Regions from separate parts of the Homo sapiens genome. Here region 1 is linked to region 2. Evidence: promoter capture Hi-C in human tissues and cell types (Jung and others, 2019). All regions are on one chromosome and are shown on one strand. Each heading gives the region's core, a stretch centred on a gene start or on the middle of the fragment in contact. The rest is flanking DNA. Distances are from core to core; before and after follow the strand shown. Region 1 has its middle 26 kb from the start of OCM. Region 2 holds the start of RNF216 (ring finger protein 216).

Region 1 (5,852 bases), core at 669-3,168, 74 kb before region 2:
TTGAGAGTGAGACTCGGTTTGTCACCCAGGTTGGAGTGCAGTGACACAATCTCAACTCACTGCAACCTCTGCCCCTTGGGTTCAAGCGATCCACCCACCTCAGCCTCCCTAGTAGCTGGGACTACAGGTGCGCACAACCGCGCCCAGCTAATTTTTGTATTTTTAGTAGAGACGGGGATTTCACCATGTTGGCCAGGCTGGTCTTGAACTCCTGACCTCAGGTGATCCACCCGCCTCGGCCTCCCAAAGTACTGGGATCACAGGCGTGAACCTCCGCACCCAGATGCGTGGTCCTTTTGAGACTTGCAGAACTAGACCAACCCTTAGTCTAGGGCCAATTCTGCCGCACCACGAAGGCAACGCCCCTCTGAACACTTGATTCAATGCCCCAGGTATTATGAGGTTTTTCACTTTGCCTGCTGGAAACACGAACGGTTCCCAGCTTTTTGTGGACTTTGGAATTATTCTGCCTGTTTCTATTGTGTGATTCCTTCCCCTAGTCTTGCTCGGGTAATTTCCTCCATGTGTGAGGTGATCCCACTCAGCTTCAGAGTCAAGAGGTTTCCTTTGCAAAGCTGCAGAATTTGGGTTTTTTTGCATATCTCTCCCGCAGGATTCCATCCTGCAAATTCCAGCTGCTTTGGCCTGCTCAAACTTTTTTTTTTTTTTTTTTTAGAGACAGAGTCTCGCTTTCTGGCCCAGGCTGGAGGGCAGTGGCGCGATCTCGGCTCACTGCAACCTCCACCTCCCAGGTTCAAGTGATTCTCATGCTTCAGCCGCCTGACTAGCTGGGATTACAAGCATGCACCACCACGCCCAGCTAAATTTTTTGTATTTTTAGTAGAGACAGGGTTTCACCATGTTGGCCAGGCTGGTCTCGAACTCCTGACCTCAAGTGACCCACCCACCTCGGCCTCCCAAAGTGCTAGGATTATAGGCGTGAACCACCGCACCTGGCCAGGCCTGCTCACACTTTCAGCTCTGTCTCCTGCACTCAGGGAGAACACTGGGCTCTGCCCGGCTGCCCTCCTCCCGCGGCAGCTGGAAACACTTTGCCTCATTGGTTTCTCCCCTAACGGAGATCATGGTCTTTAGTGCCACCTATTGACCGGTGTCTAAAAACTGCCTTTGCGTATGTGTTGTACGGTTTTCTAGGTATTTAAGGCAAGAGGGTTAATCCATCTTGGCCATAAGTTGGGGAAGTCTCCACAATTTTTACAACATTTTGGGAGTCTGAAGGGGGAAGACTGCTTGAGACCAGGAGTTCGAACCCAGCTCGGGCAACACAGCAAGACCCCAATCTCTCCAAGAAAATAAAAATACTAAAAGTAGCCGAGCATGACAATGTGCGCCTATAGTCTCAGCTACTCGGGAGGCTGAGGTGGGAGGACTGCCTGAGCCCAGGAGATCCAGGCTGCAGTGAGCCATGTTGGCACCACTGCACTCCAGTCTGGGTGACACAGTGAGACCTTGTCTCAAGAAAAAAATAAAACATTTTAAGTTCCTGGAAGGGTGAGTTAGAGGCTATATAAAGAATTAAAGCTTTTTTAAAATCACATTCCCAAATTATTGGTCAAAAGGGAGCAGTGGGCCGGGTGTGGTGGCTCATACCTGTTATCCCAGCACTTTGGGAGGCCGAGGTGGGCGGATCACCTGAGGTCAGGACTTTGAGACCAGCCTGGCCAACACGGCAAAACCCCATCTGTACTAAAAATACAAAAATGAGCCAGGCGTGGTGGTGAGCACCTGTAATCCCAGCTACTTGGGAGGCTGAAGCAGGAGAATCACTTGAACTGGGGAGGCAGAAGTTGCAGTGAGCCGAGACAGTGCCTCTGTACTCCAGCCTGGGTGACAGAGCAAGACTCCATCTCAAAAAAAAAAAAGAATTAAAGCTTTTGGTGGCTCACACCTGTAATCCCGGTACTTTGGGAGGCTGAGGTGAGCAGATGGCTTGAGCTCAGGAGTTCAAGACCAGCCTGGGCAATGCGGTGAAACCCCATCTCTACAAAAATTATAAAAATTAGCCAGCCATGCTGGCTCACACCTGTAGTTCCAGCTACTCAGGAGGCAGAGGTGGGAGGATCGCTTGAGCCTGGGAAGTTGAGGCTGCAATGAGCCCTGATTTTGCCACTGTACTCCAGCCTATACAACAGAGCAAGACCCTTCTCAAAAACGAAAAGAAACTGCTGTTTCCTATGTTTTGTACAGTTGTAGGTATTTAAGGCAAGAAGGGTTATCCATCTTGGCCATAAGAAGGGGAGATCTCCACAATTTCTGTAAACATTTTAAGTTCATGGAAGGGGAATTGTGGGTTAGAGGCTATATAAAGTATTAGGATTTTTGATAATAAGAAAATATGGGCTAAGCATCGTGGCTGTAATCCCAGCACTTTGGGAGGCCGAGGTGGGTGCATCACTTGAGGTCAGGAGTTCGAGACCAGCCTGGCCAACATGGTGAAACCCCCATCTCTATTAAAAATGCAAAAAAAATTAGCCAGGCATGGTGGCGGGTGCCTGTAATCCCAGCTACTCAGGAGACTGACACAGGAGAATTGCTTGAACCCAGGAGGAGGAGATAACAGTGAGCCAAGATCATGCCATTGCACTCCAGCCTGGACAACAAGAGCAAAACTCCATCTCAAAAAAAGAAAAGGGCACATATGTGTGCGTGCAACAGAATACAGAATATTTATTTCCAGAGGAACCCTGACTTCTCCAGGCTCCTCGGTTTGTCCTTCTTTGTGGGCATGATTTATGCAGCTGCCTATAGATGTCACCACAGGAAGGCACGTCAGAGGTAATAAAAATCCCAGAGTGAGAACTGCGGCACCACGGCAGAGGGCCAGAGCACGAGTGCAAAGGCCCCGTGTCAAACACAGAAGAGGTTTTTGTTTTAAATCACGACATCTAATGGCTCACACCTGCAACCCTAGCATTTTGGGAGTCTGAGGTGGGAAGATGGCTTGAGCCTAGGAGTTAGAGACCAGCCGAGGCAACATAGCAAGACCCTGTCTTTACCAAAAATAAAAAAAAAAAAAAATAGTTGGGCGTGGTGGCATGCATCTGTGGTTCCAGCTCCTCGGGAGGCTGAGGCAGGAGGACCACTTGATCCCAGGAGTTTGAGGCTGCAGTGAGCTGTGATCACACCACTGCACTCCAGCCTGGGTAACAGAGTGAGATCCTGTCTCAAGTAAAACATAAAATAAAATAACATAAATAAAATTAAAATTAAAATAAATAAAATGAAATAACAAAATAAAATAACATCAGTCCACAGAACCCAAATCTTCGCCCAAGATAGAGTGACAGCCTTTACTAAAACAAATATGATCACCAGCAACCAAATTAAACACGGTCCACGTGAAGAGTGAATGAGGAAAGATTTTGGTTATGCTCAGGCATTTGGACCAGTTTAACTGAGGTCAAATTTTTTCAGATTTTTCTTTTCAAAAGCTGGTTGTGGAGTGGAGTTCAGGAGCATGTTCTTCATAAAGTGGCTCTTTGTGGGTCGGCCCTGGTGGGCGGGATTTCATCAATCTCACCAACCTCATTATCTAACATGCTGAATATGTAGCATCGATCAACGAACGAGATCCTCGGTCTCATGAAGTCAGCTTTCTGGGGAGGAGAAAAGAAACACAAATAAACAAGGAAATAAACGCCCAAGGTGGAAATAAGACAGCGTGAGGGTCAGGTTCCTTGAACTCACGTTTTTTTTTTTTTTTCTGAGATGGAGTTTCACTCTGTCGCCCAGGCTGGAGTGCAATGGCGCTATGTCGGCTCACTGCAACCTCCGCCCCCCAGGTTCAAGTGATTCTCCTGCCTCAGCTTCCTGAGTAGCTGGGATTACAGGCACCTGCCATCGTGCCTGGCTTTGTATTTTTAGTAGAGATGGGGTTTTACCATGTTAGCCAGACTGGCCTCGAACTCCTGACCTCCAGTGACCCACCCACCTTGGCCTCCCAAAGTGCTGAGATTAGAGGCATGAGCCACCACACCTGGCCGAGCTCATGTTCTTGAGTCACCCTCTGTCCTTTATAGAGAAGCAGTTTGGAGATTTCGTCCTACGTGTCTGAGGCCGGGTGCTATGGCTCATGCCTGTAATCCCAGTAATCCCAGCACTTTGGGAGGCTGAGACGGGAGCATTGCTTGAGCCCAAGAATTCGAGACCAGACTGGACAACATAGTGAGGCTCTATCTCTTCAAAAAATAAAAAATTAGCCAGGTGCGGTGGTGCATGCCTGTGGTCCCAGCTACTCAGGAGGCTGAGGCAGGAGGATCACTTGAGCCCAGGAGGTCGAGGCTGCAGTGAGCCATGATTGCATCACTGCACTCAGCCTGGGCAACAGAACAAGACAGTGTCTCAAAAAAAATTGTGTGAATCTCTTTTTGGCAAAGCAATCTGACATGTTTCTTGTTTCAGAGACTCAGCTTATTTTCAACCTAAAAGCCAACTAACTCTCACAGGGGAATACTGTACACAGTGATTACTGCAGTGTGTTTGTGTGTTAAAGACTGCTTTGTCATGCAGACTACAGCTCCAGCCTCACCTCGCTGTAATTTACTGTGGATATTTTGCATTATGTAGGCAGCACCTTATACCCGACAGAAGAGTTGAGGGCGGGGGGTCGGTGGGGGGGTGGGGGGGTGGGGTCCAGTCCCAACTCAGGTGTGCTATAAACTGGCTGACCTCAGATGAACCTTATTATATTGCTGAGCCCAGGTTTTCTCAACTACAACCATAATAATAAGACTTTGCCTCTAAGTTTAACATGGGGAATAATGACCGTATGAAAATATAGACTCAGCCTGGGCAACATCGTGCGACACCCATCTCTGCTACAAATTTAAAAATTAGCCAGGTGCAGTGGCTCACGCCTGTAATCCCACTGCTTGGGGAGGTAGAGGCAAGAGGAATGCTTGAGGCAAGGAGTTTGAGACCAGCCTGGGTAACAGAGCGAGACCCCATCTCTATGAAAAAGTTAAAAAGTTAGTGAGGCGTGATAGCATGTGCCCGTAGTCCCAGCTACTTGGGAGGATAAGGCAGGAGGATCGCTGGAGCCCCAGAAGTTCAAGGCTGCAGTGAGCTATAATCGCACCACTGCACTCCAGCCTGGGTGACAGAGCAAGACTATGTTGCCTCTGCTGGTCTCGAGAGACCCTTGTAGTCTGCTGCCTACTCCATGTAGGATGTAGTTACATTGATAATCTTGTTTTACAGATGAGGAAACTGAGGCTTGAATGATTTACCCAAAGTTAGCAAATGGTAGAGCTGAGACTTGAAGCAAGCTGACTCTAGCATGTTCATCTTAACTCCCTGGAGACAAGGAGCTCAGAACCCAGTGGCCTGGGTGTCTCCAGGAGTGAGGAACGGGAAAAAAAACTGCAACCTGGCTAACTCTTCTGTCTCCAGTGGCAAGAAAGAGACAGAAACGGTTATTTCAAGATGTTGTGATTATTGTTATTGAGGCAGCATCTCACTCTGTCTCCCAGGCTGGAGTGCCGTGGCGCAATCTTGGCTCACCACAACCTCCACTTCCCAGGCTCAAGCGATCCTCCCATCTCAGCCTCCTGAGTAGCTGGGACTGCAGGCACATGCTACCACGTCCGGCTAATTTTTTTTGTAGAGACAGGGTTTCACCATGTTGCGCAGGCTGGTCTCAAACTCCTGAGCTCAAGTGATCTGCCTGTCTCGGCCTCCCAAAGTGCTGGGATTACAGGCGTGAACCACCGTGCCCAGCCAAGACATTATTCTTTTGTAAAGTAAACATAGTTGCTCTTAGCATATGGTTCTCAATTGATGGGCGTGTGTGTGTGTGTGTGTTCTCTCTGGAAAAGTTTTCTCTGGGAGAA
Region 2 (6,073 bases), core at 1,799-4,298:
CCGTCTCTACAAAAAATATTTTAAAAATTAGCCGGGTGTGATGGTGGGTGCCTGTAGTCCCAGCTACTTGGGAGACTGAGCCAGGAGAATCGCTTGAACCTGGGAGGCAGAGGTTCCAGTGAGGCAAGATCGTGCCACTGCACTCCAGCCTGGGCGATGGAAGGAGACACCGTCTCAAAAATAAATAAATAAAGACAAAAATAAAGTCTCTCTTCTCATTGCCATCACGTCTGAGTCAGAGTCTCCAAAAAGCCTGAACAAATAAAAAATTCCAGACTCAGGCCAGGTGCGGTGGCTCATGCCTGTAATTCCAGCACTTTGGGAGGCCAAGGCGGGTGGATCACGAGGTCAGGAGATCGAGACCATCCTGGCTAACACGGCGAAACCCCATCTCTACTAAAAATACAAAAAAAAATTAGCCCTTGGTGGCGGGCGCCTGTAGTCCCAGCTACTCGGGAGGCTGAGGCAGGAGAACGGCGTGAGCCCAGGAGGCGGAGCTTGCAGTGAACCAAGATCGCGCCACCGCACTCCAGACTGGGTGGCACAGCAAGACTTCATCTCAAAAAAAAAAAAAAAAAAAGCTAGACTCAGAGAGGTTACTCGATCGCACCTGCCTTGGGTGTGACACCAACCACAGAGGGGTTCAGTGGTCCGGAAAGAACCTTGCACTCCTGCTAAGATCACCAAGCTCTCCTTCCAATACTGCTTTCTTCCAACATCTCAAAGGGCTTATGAGGACCATCCTAAGAAGAAGGCTGTAACTGACAGCGATTATCCACCTCCCCCAAGAGGACCAGCATGGAGGATAAGCTCATCAAGGCCAATGCCTTTGTTTTACCTTCCAGGTGATTCCAGGATCTCATCTCAGGTAAGTATCTATCTTAAACTCTCTCTCCTGTTCACCCTCTAATGTCTCCCATGCACTGCACCCTCTAACTCAGGGCCTGACATCTGTAAGATCCCTAGATCCTCGTCCTGTTCTGTAAGCAGCCCTTCAATTTCTACTTCACTGAAACATGACTATTCCCTCAGGACACTGTTCCCCAAAGCACTATGAGTAGTGGTCTTTTTCTGTCCCATGCAAGCCCCCATAAGCCACACTCTACTGTCTTAGAGAAGGAACACTCATTGCCGCATCAAGACTATTGTTCCTCTCATTTCCCTGTTTTGTTTTTGTTTGCTTCTTTTGAGACAGGCTGTTGTTCTGTCATCCAGGCTGGAGTGCAGCAGTGCAATCATAGCTCACAGCAGCCTCGGACTCCTGGGCTCAAACAATCCTCTGGCCGGGTTTAGTGGCTCGCTCCTGTAATTCCAGCACTTTGGTAGGCCGAGGTGGGTAGATTACCTGAGGTCAGGAGTTCAAGACCAGCCTGGCCAACATGGTGAAACCCTGTCTCTACTGAAAATACGAAAATTAGCCGGGCGTGGTGGCACATGCTTGTAATCCCAGCTACTCAGGAGGCTGAGGCAGGAGAATCGCTTGAGCCCAGAAGGTGGAGGTTGCAGTGAGCCAAGATCGTGCCACCGCACTCCAGCCTGGCTGACAGAGTGAGATTCTGTCCAAAAAAACAAAACAAACAAAACAAAACAAAACAAAAAAATCCTCCCACCTCAGTCTCCTGAGTAGCTGGGACTATAGGTGCGCACCACCATGCCCGGCTAATTTTTATTTTTGTAAAGATGGGGTCTTACTCTATTGCCCAGGATCGTCTCAAACTCCTGGCTTCAAGCCATCCTCCCACCTCCATTTCCCAAAATGTTCGGATTCCAGGTATAAGCCACTATGCCCAGCCCAGACTCATTTATCTAATTACTGACTTGATATCTCTACTTGAAGGTGTACTTGGCAATTTTTTTTTTTTTGAGACACAGTCTCACTCTGTTACCCAGGCTGAAGTGCAGTGGCATAATCACTGCACTACAACCTCCCCCTCCTCGGTTCAAGCAATTCTTGTGCCTCGGCCTCCCGAGTAGCTCGGATTACAGGCACGCACCACCATGCCCAGCTAATTTTTGTATTTTTAGTAGAGACGGGGTTTCACCATGGTGGCCAGGCTGGTCTCGAACTCCTGACCTCAAGTGATCTGCCTGCCTCGGCCTCCCAATGTGCTGGGATTACAGGCGTGAACCACCACGCCTGGCCAGCAATTATTTTAAGAGTTGGGGTCTTGCTATTTTGCTAAGGCTGGTCTTGAACTCCTGGCCTCAAGCGATCCTCCTGCCTTGGCCTTCCAAAGCGCGGGGATTATGGACATGAGCCACTGTGCCCAGCAGGAGCAGTATTTTAGTCAGTTATTCACTTGCTCACTAAAACCTAAACTTCCTGAGGCCAGGAACACATTTTACTTTTTTTTTTTTTCGAGATGGAGGGTTGCTCTGTTGCCCAGGCTGGAGTGCAGGGGCGCCATGTTGGCTCACTACAACCTCCGCCTCCCAGGTTCAAGTGATTTTCCCGCCTCAGCCTCCTGAGTAGCTGGGATTACAGGCATCCGCCACCATGCCTGGCTAATTTTTTTATTTTTGGTAGAGACGGGTTTCACCATGTTGGCCAGGCTGGTCTCCAACGTCTGACCTCAAGTGATCCACCCGCCTTGGCCTCCCAAAGTGCTGGGATTACAGGCGTGAGCCACTGTGCCCAGCCATGGGACCCACTTTACTCTTAATTTCCCCAATTCCTAGAACAGTGTGTGGCCCACAGGAAATCCGCAGAATATATTTGCAGAATGAATGAATGACTTGCCAAACGAATTAGGGCAAATCAGTAGATATCGAGTAAACATCCACAACCACCTGCCCCATACCCTTTTCAGCTCTGGGGAGATGGTGGCTCCTTGTGGGGTCGGATATGGGGGTCTCCTTTCCTTTCACCCTCCTGCCTCGTGGGGGAGTCAAGTCTCCGCAGGCGGAGAGCCCGGATGCAGGCGCGACTAGGCGGCCCTCTCTATGGTGAGCCCCCCGGTCCCTCCTCCGCAGTACCCGGAGTGCCTCTATGGTTCTTCCTGTCCTTAGTCGGGAGGGGGCGCTGTGCGCAGGCGCGAGGTGACGCCGCGGCAGGGCCGGAAGGAGTGCAGCGGCTGCCACGGAGCTCGCAGCTGCGGCTTCTGAGGAGTAAGCGGCGCGGTAGCGAAGGCCGCCGAACCTGCCTGGCTAGCCGGCGACTTGAGTGACGAGTGAGTGTCGGCTGCGGGGCGCGCTCGAGCTCCTGGGCGGGTCTGTGAGGCGACGCGGCCTCTCTGAGGGGCGCCTCTGTGGAGCTCCGGGGGTGGGGGCGGGGGCGCGGGCCGTGAGGGCCGCCGAGCTGAGGGGCGCGGGCCGAGGCCCGGGCGGGATCGGGCCAAGGGGCTGGGCTGGGCGTCTCGAGCCCGGTGCGGTGGCGAGGCTGGAGCGACAAAGGCGCTGAGCGGCCGGGTGGCCCCCTCTCGCCACTTCGCGAAGTTTCGCGGGCCGGCCCCTCGGGTCTGCTGCGCGAGGGCAACAGCCCGGGAGACCGCGCTTCCCTCCCCCGGGCCCGAGGCCGCCGCGGAGGCGGTGTCCGTGCACCCGAGCGCGGCCTGGAGGAGCGGCGGGAGGCGGGCCGTGCCTGTGAACCCCAGCCCAGGCGGGCGGCGTTTTTCCTCCTCTTCCCTCACATCTGGAGCGCGTGTTCCGCGAAAGTTGGCGACTGTCACCCGGCACTCGCGAGGGCGCCGCAAGTGCGTCAAACCCTTCTGCGGGGCGCTGGGGGCTGGCCCGGCTCGGGTGTCCGGGCGCTGGGCAGCGAGCGAGGCCGCTGTCCCCGCGTCGAGGTGGTTCTGCTCCCGGTGGAACAGGACCAGGGATCCAAGACTCTGGGCCACTTGCAACCAACCCTGGAGCGTGCGCGGCGTGCGGGTTACAGAAATTTCTGACAAATCCGACAGGGCTCTGTAAATCCCTAAGGGCCTGGGTAGCAGCTGTCCTAGGTACTTAGATCGTGCAAAGAGAACGTTCTTTTTTCTTTTACTTTTTTTTTTTTCTCCTTTTCTTTGAGACGGAGTCTTGCTCTGTTGCCCAGGCTGGAGTGCAGTGGCGCGATCCCGGCTCACTGCAAGCTCTGCCTCCCGGATTCAAGCGATTTTCCTGCCTCAGCCTCACAGGGATTGCCTCAGCTGGGATTACAGGCATTTGCCACCACGTCCAGCTAATTTTTGTATTTTTAGTAGAGACGGGATTTCTCCGTGTTGGCCAGGCTGGTCTCTAACGTCTGACCTCAGGTGATCCCTCCGCCTCGGCCTCCCAAAGTGCTACAGTCTTTTCAAAAGACGTTTCAGATATGTTCTCCGGGACCCTCGGGCCCTTCAGTAAGAAGCGCCCTGGCTGAAAACCCACACGTTCACCTACAGAAGAAGCACTGTGACGTAGAGGGTGAGCAGAGCAGAGGGCCTCACAGTGGCCCTCACATGCACCTGGCTCCAGCCTGGCCAGGTCATTTTGCCCTGGTGGGCCTGTGCCTCAAAAATGGGGTTTCTTCCCTTGTGAGGAAGACCCATGAATTAGTAACGGAATTGCCAGGAATGCTAAAAACTATCTAAATGCCATGTATTGTTTTCAAGCTGTTACTCCTGGAAGGGGCTGGGTTGGCATTGTTTTAGAGGTTAGGAGCCAAACATCAGCTCATCTATTCTCCAGCTGTTGTTTGTCCTCCATCTTCCTGCAATAGTCAGGCACAGGGTCTTATAAAAATGGGTTTGTGCTGCTGTATGTTTCGGTGGGTACCTTTGTTTACTGAATGGGATGTAGGTGGGGGACCAGAGCATATCCGCGTCCCTCGGAAACAGTGGCGTTTTAGATGTAGTATGTCCCGTCAGCTCCTCTCTGCCCCACCCACCCCAGCCCATTCATTGAGCATTTTTTTTTTTTTTTTGAGGCGGAGTCTGGCTGTATTTCCCAGGCTAAAGTGCAGTGGTGCCATCTCTGCCCACTGCACCCTCCGCCTGCCAGCTTCAAGTAATTCTCCTGCCTCAGCCTCCCGAGTAGCTGGAATTACAGGCGCGCACCACCACGCTCGGCTAACTTTTTTTTTTTTTTTTTTTTTTAAGAGACGGAGTCTAGCTGTGCTGCCCAACTCCTGGGTTTAAGTGACCCTCAGCCTCCCAAAGCACAAGAATTACAGGCTTTAGCCACCGTGCTCTGCCAGAACATTCTTTACGCGCTGAGAAGGGAGAGAAGCGGGAAGATTCTATGAAACATCTCAATTTAGTCGGCTTGCTTTAAGGAAGAAGGCTAATACATGGCCTGGCTTTGCCTTGGTTTTGTATTTCATAATTTATTGCGCCTGGGGTGTGGGGAGTAGTGGTGGATTTGAGGAAATGCCTGGAGAGTCTGGGCCAGATTTTGGACCCCCTGGCAAACCTCATTCGAGGCTTTAGATTTTTACCCTGATTAGAGCAGCAGCAGCTAATAAAAGAGAACTCCTGAAGCCCCTGTGGAGAAATCTGATAAAGAAGGGTTAGGTGTGAGTGAGGCAGATCGAAAGTTGATGAATAGGATAGTTGAGAGAGCTGGTATTTGCTGATTCTACTACCAGCTACTATTTAATGTGTTTACAAAATTCTAGGCATTGCTATATTCTAGCTCTTTAGAGACATAATTCATTCTCATACCTGATATCATTATATTTGCATTATTGTTAAAGATAATAGAACATAGTTGGGAATGGTGTGGCTCACGCCCGTAATCCCAGCACTTTGGGAGGCCGAGGCGGGCAGATCACCTAAGGTCAGGAGTTCGAGACCAGCCTGGCCAACATGGTGAAACCCCGTCTCTACTAAAAATACAAAAATTAGCCAGGTGTGATGGCGTGCGCCTGTAATCCCAGCTACTGGGGAGGCTGAGGCAGGAGAATCACATGAACTCGGGAGGCGGAGGTTGCAGTGATCCGAGATTGTGCCACTGCACTCCAGCCTGGGTGACAGAGCGAGACTCCGTCTCAAAAATAATAATAATTTTAAAAAAAGAAACTGAGGTGCTGAAAAATATCTAGTCCCAAAACTTGTAAGGGTCAGCGTGGAACTTGAACTCAGTTTGGACCCAGAGTTCATGCCACTAATTATCC

The links. The method cuts DNA at HindIII sites, captures the fragments that hold promoters and counts their contacts. A contact is called where the count stands out against the background at its distance.
Region 1: a fragment that was not itself captured here is called in contact with the fragment with the promoter of RNF216 in region 2 in 2 of the 25 tissues and cell types used here (heart right ventricle and mesenchymal stem cells).

What each region holds. Positions count from the first base shown.
Region 1 is chr7:5,851,872-5,857,723 of GRCh38, reverse strand. It overlaps the pseudogene ZNF815P. Among named protein-coding and RNA genes, the nearest start is that of OCM, 26 kb to the left of the region's middle. The HindIII fragment of the contact is 4,199 bases long and covers 1-4,017 here.
Region 2 is chr7:5,778,638-5,784,710 of GRCh38, reverse strand. It overlaps RNF216 (ring finger protein 216), which reads left to right and starts at 3,048. Exons shown (of 17, transcript NM_207111.4): 1 at 3,048-3,170. RefSeq lists a silencer at 3,250-3,639. The HindIII fragment of the contact is 32,599 bases long and covers 1-6,073 here.